Linked DNA regions of Homo sapiens: region 1 is linked to region 2. Evidence: promoter capture Hi-C in human tissues and cell types (Jung and others, 2019). All regions are on one chromosome and are shown on one strand. Each heading gives the region's core, a stretch centred on a gene start or on the middle of the fragment in contact. The rest is flanking DNA. Distances are from core to core; before and after follow the strand shown.

Evidence for each region. Contacts are between HindIII fragments. The study calls those that stand out against the background at their distance.
Region 1: a fragment that was not itself captured here is called in contact with the fragment with the promoter of MBOAT4 in region 2 in 1 of the 25 tissues and cell types used here (spleen).

The regions. Positions count from the first base shown.
Region 1 is chr8:29,612,198-29,617,157 of GRCh38, reverse strand. No RefSeq gene overlaps it. Among named protein-coding and RNA genes, the nearest start is that of LINC02948, 52 kb to the right of the region's middle. The HindIII fragment of the contact is 3,374 bases long and covers 330-3,703 here.
Region 2 is chr8:30,142,495-30,147,416 of GRCh38, reverse strand. MBOAT4 (membrane bound ghrelin O-acyltransferase MBOAT4) reads left to right here and starts at 2,752. Exons shown (of 3, transcript NM_001100916.2): 1 at 2,752-2,934. The coding sequence starts at 2,816. The HindIII fragment of the contact is 8,892 bases long and covers 1-4,922 here.

The DNA of each region.
Region 1 (4,960 bases), core at 767-3,266, 530 kb after region 2:
AATAGCACAGATCTTTCCAGTTAGGGGGAGAATGGGGGCTCAGGCCAGCACAGCCAGTGAGGAAGAGCTCCCCAAACACCCCGGGAGCCAGTCTCCGGAGAAAGCTTCAGGAGGTGGGCAGTGGGTAAACAAAAGAGAAAACTCAGAGATAAATGAGAAGGTGCCCCCGTCTTTAGCAAGAAAATATCCAATTCATCAATGTCCAGACACCCCCACCTCCTACAGGGCTGACATCTGAAACAAAATTAAGTAACCAAATACAAGTTCCTTCCTGTCAGTAGAAGGCAATATTATTAGCAAATTAGCAAACACATCCATCAGTGGTAAAAGAAAATCAATGGGTTTTGGAGTTTTAAAAAAACAGGAAAAAGGCTAGAACTAACAGCAGAAAGGTAATACACCCCTTAGAGAGCTTGACGTTTCTTCCATGGAGATTATGGTCCCAGCCAGCTTCACACCCCCACTCCCACTTCCTTACCCAGAAAAGAGGGGACCTCGCCCTCTTTCCAGACACTGCAATGGCTTCCCTCTGCTCCCTGCTTTCAGGAGCTAAGCTTTGGAGTTATTTCTTTGCTTGCACAATGGCTGGCCAAAGCCACAAGCCCCCCGGCCCTAAAGGAAGTCTGTTGGAGACATCTCCTTTGAAGACAGGGAGCAAGGGTCGACCTGGTGATTTTTTCTTCTGGTATTCCCCCTCCATGGCAATGAATGGATATGCAGTCAAGAAAGAGCCTTCAGATGGCTAAGCCGGCAGGAGGGATTGTACAGTTCCCTGCTTTTAGAAAAGTATGTAGGATAAGAAAAGTGACAGCAGAGACCTAACAAGGAATGGCTCCACCCTGCCCCTGAGCTGTGAAGCAGCTGGTGGACCTGGGAAAGCGGCTTGATCTCCCCTCCCCTCTTCTCCTCTCCTCTCTCCTCCCCTCCCATGTCTTTTTCTTTCTTCTTCCCTTCCCTTGCCTTTCCCTCCCTTCCCTTCCCCTTTCCCTTCCCCTTCCCTCCTTCCCTCCTTCCCTCTCCTTCCTTTCTTTCTTTCTTTTTCTTTCTCTCTCCTTCCTTCCTTTCTTCCTTCTCCTTTTCTTTTTTACTTTCTCTTTCTTTCTTTCTTTCTCTTTCTTTCTTTCTGTCTTTCTTTCTTTCTTTCTTTTCCTTCCTTCCTTCCTTTTCTTCTTTCTTTCTTTCTTTAAATCTGGTAAAAGCTACAAACACTATCCTCAAAAAAAAAAAAACACACACACACATTTTCTGAGGATTCACACACACAATGGGGGCTCAAGTACCCTTTGCTTTAAGAAAATTCACCATGCCCTGGAGTCAGACCCACCTGGCACCCTTCTGCACTGAAGTGCAGCTGAGGGCATGAACCTGGCACTTTCCATGAGGGCAGCAGAGGTTGCTTTGAACTAACCAAGGGGGGCTTAAGTCATGGGATGGAGCACAGCCTCCTTCCGACATCTGGAATTTTAATGAGCTTGGATCAGGCCGGCAGACCCAGAGAGCATGCTTTAGGGCCCACAGAAAAGTTTTTTTATAAGCATCTTTGTCCATTGTCCAAGCATTCAGTAGGCACTCAATAAAGATGTTTAAGAATGACCTTATTTTGTTGAAGAGCAGATTCCTTTAGCAATGGACATTGCTAAATGCCTTCGCCTCTAGGGATTTGGGCAATGTACTAAAACCCCCTCCCTCGTTCTACTCAATCATCTTATTTTTGCCTCATGTAAAGCCCAGCTTAACTTTCAGAGGAGCACATGACTATCAGAGGCTGAATGGCCCCCTCCACTTCCGGGGGTGCTGGCATAGGTAGAGTACAGCCAGGCACGCACACATCTCCAGCTGGGTTCACTTGTCTTTCTGGAATCCCATTAGGTCCCAGGGGACAAGTAGAGCGCCTGATACCACTTGCCCTAATCCAACCCTGATCCACCATGTGAGGAGAGAAGAAGGCAAAGACTCACAAGACCCCATCTTCCCCCACCTTCAATACAAGCATTCCCGAGTAATACCCATTTCCAAAGTCAGCCCTCCTTTCCACTTCTCTGCTGTGTTCCAGACACTGACTGCCCCTTTTCTTGGAGCCATGAACAGCACCCAGAAGGAGGCTATTTTTGGTTCCCCTTTAATTAACCTCCTCTCTGCTCAGAACAGGCTTCTCCCTCCCCTGTTACCCAACTCAATCCCCCCTCCAGGAGTTTCTCTTCCTTACAGGGATTAGGAGAGTGTGTGGGGAGCCCATTTTCTAATGGTGTCCTTGGGCATCCAGGAGTAGGGAGAACGTCTAAGGGACAGGTGCAGAAAAAGCTCAAGCACCTTCCCCACTTCTGTCCCCTGTACAGGATGGGCCCCTCATCCCTGGTTCAAGATGTGTCCTCCAGGGTGCAGTGTGCATGACTCATTTCCGGAGTCTCAGTCAAGAGAGCTCTTTTCCCTGCCTCCTTGACAAGCTGGGGACTCTGGGGGATTTTCAGTTTCTTCCCTGGTATAGGTATTGCCACAGCAAGAATTGCACCTGTTCCAACAGGAAGTACTGTTTATGATGATACAAAGCTTAGAGAGATTCGAGAACATCAGAATCTGAAAATAACTCTAGAAGATTCCTCCCTCAATATCTGCATTTGACACATAAGAACACTGAGGTCCAAGGGAGTGAGGAAGGAAAATGCATTTTCTCCATTTGACATCACCATCTACCTGACATTCAAGTGCTTTTCAACTCTAGGCCAAGTCGCTGCACCTAGGTCTTTCCATTTTAAAATATTATATTTTTTATTTTTTGTAGAGACAGGGTCTCACTACATTGCCCACGCTGGGCTCAAGCGATACACCTGCCTTGGCCTCCCAAAGTGCTGGGATTAACAGGTTTGAGCCACCACGCCCAGCCAGTAGCTATTTCCATTTAAGAAATGTCCATACCGAACAAGTTTGCTGGAATGACTGAGGGCATAGATATTGTGTCCAGAGTTGTTTCCTTCCAGTGGGTTCGCGGTCTCGCTGACTTCAGGAATGGAGCCACAGACCTTCAGGGTGAGTGTTACAGCTCTTAAAGGTGGTACGGGCCCAAAAAGTGAGCAGCAGCAAGATTTATTGTGAAGAGCAAAAGAACAAAGCTTCCACACAGTGGAAGGGGACCCAAGCGGGTAGCCGCTGCTGGCTGGGTGTGGCCAGCTTTTATTCCGTTATTTGTCTCCGCCCATGTCCTGCTGATTAGTACATTTTACAGAGTGCTGATTGGTCCATTTTACAAACCTCTAGCTAGACACAGAGCGCTGATTGGTGCATTTTTACAGAGCACTGATTGGCGCATTTTACAAACCTCTAGCTAGCCACAAAGTGCTGATTGGTGCGTTTTACAATCCTAACTACAGAGTGCTGATTGGTGCATTTTATAATCCTCTTGTAAGACAGAAAAGTTCTCCAAGTCCCCACTGGACCCTGGAAGTCCAACTGGCTTCACTTCTCAATAGAATAGTGCAAAAAGTTACCTAGCACAGACAGAAGCCAGGCTCAGAAAGAAGTGAGACTTCTGTCTCCATATCACAGATAATATGTGGTAGACAAAAGCTTATGACAACTGGGGCAATGTTAACAAGGACAGCCAGTTAAGCTAATTCCTCTTCCACATGCTGCGTCTCCAGTGGAGTTTGCCAATCCTGGGCAGTTACTGTGGACGTAGATACTTTTCAAATGGAAAGGACAACTCTTAACATGTGAGTAGGAAATGAATAAACAGGGAAACTAATCCATTCCAACAAGGACGATGCAGCTGGCTGTGGCCTTTGGGCCTTTTAAAATCTCTAGATAAATAAAACTAGTTCTAATGTACCAGTTAAGTATTAAAAACAAGCTTTAAAAAAATTCTTATGATTTAGCTAATAGAACAGTGCAATCAAGAACACAGAAGGCTCTGAGCAGCAGTCTCTTCTTTCAAAGATGGCCCCACCATCACCACGACCACCCAATCAGGAAGCAGGGCACATTTCTCTTTGCTCCGCACAGACAGTTCATCTTTTTCTTCTCACGCTACCCACAAATGTTTGCCTGGCTTCAGAATTTTCAAATAATTTTTGATTTTGGTCCACAGGTTCCCTGGTGAAGACTCTAGTCCAATATAAATCACCAGAAGTGCAAGGGAAGTTGGATCTCACTCGTCTGTCCCGTCAGGACTCAGCTTGGGGGTAGTCAAGGCTTCTCCACAGGATGATGTGGGCACTGGGATTCGCTGGGGGCAGTCCGCAGCCTCCGTTCTTCTCTAGCTTGGGAGAGAAGAAAGGCACAGCCATGGCCCTGGCCCTGGCCCTGCATGAGGCAGCCACATGCCTACCCTGGTGGTGACTGTCTACTCTTCTGACAGATTTTCTTTCTCATTCTCTTGATGAGGCAACCCTAAGGTTTTTACTAATAGTGACTCTTACAAATGAGGGGCTTCAAATGTAATCCGGAGGAGAAAAGGTGGTTTAGAGACAGCGTGAGGAGAGCTGTAGGGTACCCCAATGCCAGTCACTGCATTCAGCAAATATCAACATTGATTTAATGCCTGCCCTGTACCTGGTACTATGTCCACAAGTACATGAGTAGGACAAAGTCCCTGTTTTCTAAGAGCTTGAAAGCTACTGGAGAAGACAGGGAGGCAAGCATGTATTTTTAGCATATGATAATGGTTATAATAAAGGATGAACAAAACTTGATAGGGACCCAGAGTAAAGACCTCTTGTCTGTTCTGGATGAAAGGGAGTTTCTGAAGGGGTGACACTTGCCCCCAGAAGGAAAAGATGACCAAGAGATCAACGGGGAGAGGAGATGAGAATGTGGATACAGCAAGGTGTTGGGGGCTTTCCGAGCCCAGGAAACAGCACACAGAAACCAACAGGAAATCAACCTGGCATGCCAACAAGTGTGATCCCTAAATCCTCTCACCTTCAGGTTTTCCTCTAGACAACAGTTCTTCCTCCAAGCTGCCCTC
Region 2 (4,922 bases), core at 1,503-4,002:
AACTGCTTAAAGGCATTCTTAAACCACAAACAATAGCATGAGCGATCTGTGCCTTTAGGACATGCTCCTGCTGCAGATAACGAGCCAGAGCCCATCCTTTTATTTCGGCCCATCCCTTTATTTCCCATAAGGAATACTTTTAGTTAATCTAAAATCTATAGAAACAATGCTTATCACTGGCTTGCTGTCAATAAAGACGTGGGTAAATCTCTGTTTGAGGCTCTCAGGTCTCAGCTCTGAAGGCTGTGAGACCCCTGATTTCCCACTCTATACGCTTTATTTCTGTGTGTGTGTCTTTAATTCCTCTAGTGCTGCTGGGTTAGGGTCTCCATGACCAAACTACTCTCGGCATTCCCATTAACTGTTTTATTGTTGCCTAAGACTTTGTGCCTTCTGTGGCCTAGAATAAGCCACCCATCTGCTTGCAAACATCCTTTCACAGAGAGCCAACTTAAGCAGTTCCACTCTTCCAAAATCCTTTTTGATTCCCTATTTCTGCAGGTGATTGTTTCTTTCTTTATCCCCTACCATACACCTGTGCACCTACAGTTCATTAAGAAAGGTATTTATTTCCATTTCTGTCTCTCCAGTAGACTGAGAGCAACATGAGTGCAGGGACCATGTCTTACTCATCCCCATATTCCTAGTGCTTAGCAAAGAGTCTGTCATAAAGTGGTAGCCCAATAATGCTCATAATGTTAATTATTCAATCACTTTACCTTCAGCTACATTCAACCAGCCAGCTTTATATGCCATGCTTTTACATGCTTTATCTGATTTTCATAACAGTTCTGTTGAGATAGGCCTAATTATGTCTAGTTTTAAGGTGAAGCTTAGTCCCAGAGAGGTGATGTGACTTGCTCAAAGTTCCCCAATCAATAAGATTCTTTTGGATTTTCTTCTCTGTGCAGAGCAGTCTCTGATATGTTTGGGTCTATGTCCCCACCCAAATCTCATCCCCAGTTATAATCCCCATGTATTGAGGAAGGGAAGTGACTGGATTATGGGAACGGTTTCCCCATGCTGTTCTCGTGATCATTCTCACATGATAGTTCTCATGAGATCTGGTGGTTTTATAAATGGTGTTTTCTTCCTGCGCTCTTACTTCTCTTTCCTGTCACCTTGTAAAGAAGGTACTTGCTTCTCCTTTGCCTTCCACCATGACTGTAAGTTTCCAGAGGCCTCTCCAGCCATGCAGAACTGTGAGTCAATTAAACCTCTGTCCTTTATAAATTACCGGTCTCGGGTAGTTCTTTATAGCAGTGTGAAAACGGACGAATACAGTCTCTCACTAAAAGATGGTCCTTGCCCTGAAGATGCTCATGTCAGATTTTCCTGTCCTTTATTGACAACTTGCTCATGCAAGTGACTTTGGAGAGGGAAAACAACTGATCAGGGACAGCCCTGGAATGCCCTGGGCTCAGGAGATGGATCGCTACTAGCCAAGAGATGTCTTGCCTCTAGGAAGTCTCTTCTGTATTACTTGTCAAGAAAAGATTCTCTTGAAATGTTTCCCCTCTACACTTTGATATCCTCAAAACCTTTTTTTTTTTTTTCCAAGACGGAGTTTCACTCTTGTTGCCCAGGCTGGAGTGCAGCGGCATAATCTCAGCGCACTGCAACCTCTGCCCCCTGGGTTCAAGTGATTGTCCTGCCTCAGCCTCCTGAGTAGCTGGGATTACAGGTGTCCACCACCATGCCCAGCTAAATTTTTGCATTTTTCATAGAGACAGGGTTTCACATGTTGGCCAGGCTAGTCTTGAACTGCTGACCTCAGATGATCCACCCACCTCGCCTTCCCAAAGTGCTAGGATTACAGGCATGAGCCACCACAGCCAGCCTCCTCAAAATCTTTTAAACAAATATTTACTGGGTATATAGTATGTATTCAGCAGTGTTCTATGTGCTACGGATACAGTAATCAACAAAACAAAGTCTTTCCCTTGTAGAGCTCATGTTGTAAAGGGGGCAGGAAAATGAATTGAGAAATAGATACATAAGAGGTACTGATACGAAAAAAAGTAGCATAAGGAGGAGAGTTGTGGTGAGGAAGGGGAATCTTGGTTTTTGCCTTAAGAACCTGCCTCCAGCTGGGTGCAGTTCCTTATGCCTATAATCTCAGCACTTTGGGAGGCTGAGGCAGGAGGATCGCTTGACACCAGGAGTTTGAGATCAGCCTGGCCAACATGGCAAAACCCCATCTCTATAAAAAAAATATAAAAATTAGCTGGGCATGGTGGCACATGCCTATAGCCCCAGCTTCTCAGGAGGCTGAGGTGGGAGGATCACTTGAGCTGGGGAGATAGAGGTTGCAGTGAGCCAAGGTTGTGCCACTGCACTCCAGCCTGGGTGACAGAGCCAGACCCTATCTCAAAAAAAGAAAAAGAAAAGAACCTGCTTCCCTTCCTCCTGGTCACATTCTTGTTTCCCCTTTTCAGTCCACAGAGTTGTCTGTCCACAGTTGGGAAATGAGATTTTTCATTAACTTAGTGAAGAAAATACGACAGCATGATGACTGGAAAGGTAAATAGTATACTATGTCAATGAAACAAAACCACGCTTCCAAAAGCAATGTTTTTAGTGCATGTCATGATTAATGTTACACCAAAATGTGTTTTGGTTTCCATAGTGCAGTTCCTCAATCAGAAAGCCAGTTTTTATTCTGCTTATCTCCAGAGCTTTTGTTTGCCTTTTGCTCACCCTAGCCCCGCTAAACCAGATAAAAAGACCAGAGACAGCCTGGTTGAGATTACTCTTGGAGGAAGGCATCAGTTAAGGACACTGGAAAAGACAGGCTCTTTTGTTCTGGTTCCTAATGGAGTGGCTTTGGCTGTTCTTTCTCCATCCTATATCGTTTTACCAGGGGGCTGCATTTCCCTTTGCACTTCTCTTCAATTATCTCTGCATCATGGATTCATTCTCCACTCGTGCCAGGTAGGCTGGATGGCTATTTTTACTCTTACATCCAGAAATACTATAGTGACTGGGTGCGGTGGCTCACGCCCGTAATCCCTGCAATTTGGGAGGCTGAGGCGGGCAGATCACTTGAGGCCAGGGGTTTGAGAACTGCCTGGCCAACATAGCGAAACCCTGTCTCTAATGCAAATACAAAAAAAATTAGCTGGGCATGGTGGCTCATGCCTGTAGTTCCAGCTCCTCGGGAGGGAGGCAGGAGACCTGCTTAAGCCCAGGAGGTGGAGGTTGCAGTGAGCCGAGATGGCGCCATTGCACTCCAGCCTGGGCAACGGAGCAAGCCTCTATCTAAAAAAAAAAAAAATTCAGAAATACTATAGTAGGGCAAAAAGCAGAGTAGACTGCAGATGTGAAGATTACAATATATTAATTACACTTGTTTTTAACTTACTCTCACTGTCACTGATTATTGATATTTGATAATGAATATATATAACAGAGTAAAACTAAACTGGAAATTCACATCCTTCCTGCACTGATGTAAGGTTTGCTGGGTTCAGGTTAAATGGCAGATGAGTGAAAATAAACTCTCAGGAGAGATGGTTGTTGCGATGGTACAGGAATTCTCCAAATGGATACATCTCTGTCAACCATGGATCTCAGATATTCTTGAATAGTCCTAATTTTATGGAATTTTATCATTTTCAATCAAATTAAATTTTATATAAAGTTACATCAGTATAAGTTTTATTATAACTAAATGTGATTTTTAAAGTGCCTTTATATGAATTCTCAGAGAAATGAAATAAGTCAAAATGAATCTTGTTAGATTAGCTATATGATAATTTGAAGTTCAAAAATTATCACTAGAGATGTGATGACTTGATTGTAATGATTTTTTAAATATCAAATAACCTCAACACATTAGAGACAGCACCTATTTTTTTAGATTGCTCATATAAGATTTTATGTTTTTAACATAGTCAAAAGGCAAGAACTTAACTGAACATAGAACAGAAATGGTGAGTGTACTGTTAACATGGCTACATGATTTTCTGTTAAATTGAAAAGTCGCAAATACATTTTTTATTTTATTTATTTTTATATATATATATATATATATATATATATATATATTTTTTTTTTTTTTTTTTTTGAGACGGAGTCTCGCTCTGTCGCCCAGGCTGGAGTGCAGTGGCACGATCTCGGCTCACTGCAACCTCCACCTCCTGGATTCAAGGGATTCTCCTGCCTCAGCCTCCCCAGTACCTGGGACTATAGGTGCACACCACCATGCCCAGCTAATTTGAAATACATTTTTAAAAATAATTCCAATTTTTATTTTAGATTCAAGGGGTACATGTGTAGGTTTGTTACGTGGGTATATTGTATGATGCTGAGGGTTGGGGTATGATTGATCCCATCACCCAGGTAGTGAGCACAGTACCCAAGAGTTAGTTTTTCAACCCTTTTTCCCTGACAGTCCCTATTTTTAACAAGGTTTTGTGGAATGTCCTTTTGTAAAGTGAAAATCTGTTGCCAAAGGGCCACTTCCTAATAATTCACTTATTTTGGGAATTAGGATTTTTATATATTGGGATTCTTAAATAAAATATAGCTGTATCTAACGATCAGTTAGGATTGTGGAATTTGATTAAACAATGGTATGATCAAGTGTTCACAACTGTCTCATGGCCCTTAACTTCACTAATGGAGATTGGAGTTGGGGGACAGCTGTAAAGAAGTTTCCTTTTGAGAAAGATTCTCAAAACAATAAAGCAACATGAGTGCAAAAATAAGGATTAATCCTCATGGAGTTACCTTAGGGTGAAGATTGCTCAGTTTCTGGCTGGATGCAGTGGCTCACACCTGTAATCCCAGTAACTGGGAGGCAGAGGCAAGTGGATAGCTTGAGCCCAGGAGTTTGAGACCTGCCCGGGCAACATGACAAAATCCCTGTCTCTACAAAAAGTACAAAAAATTAGCCAAGTGTGGTGGTACATGCCTGT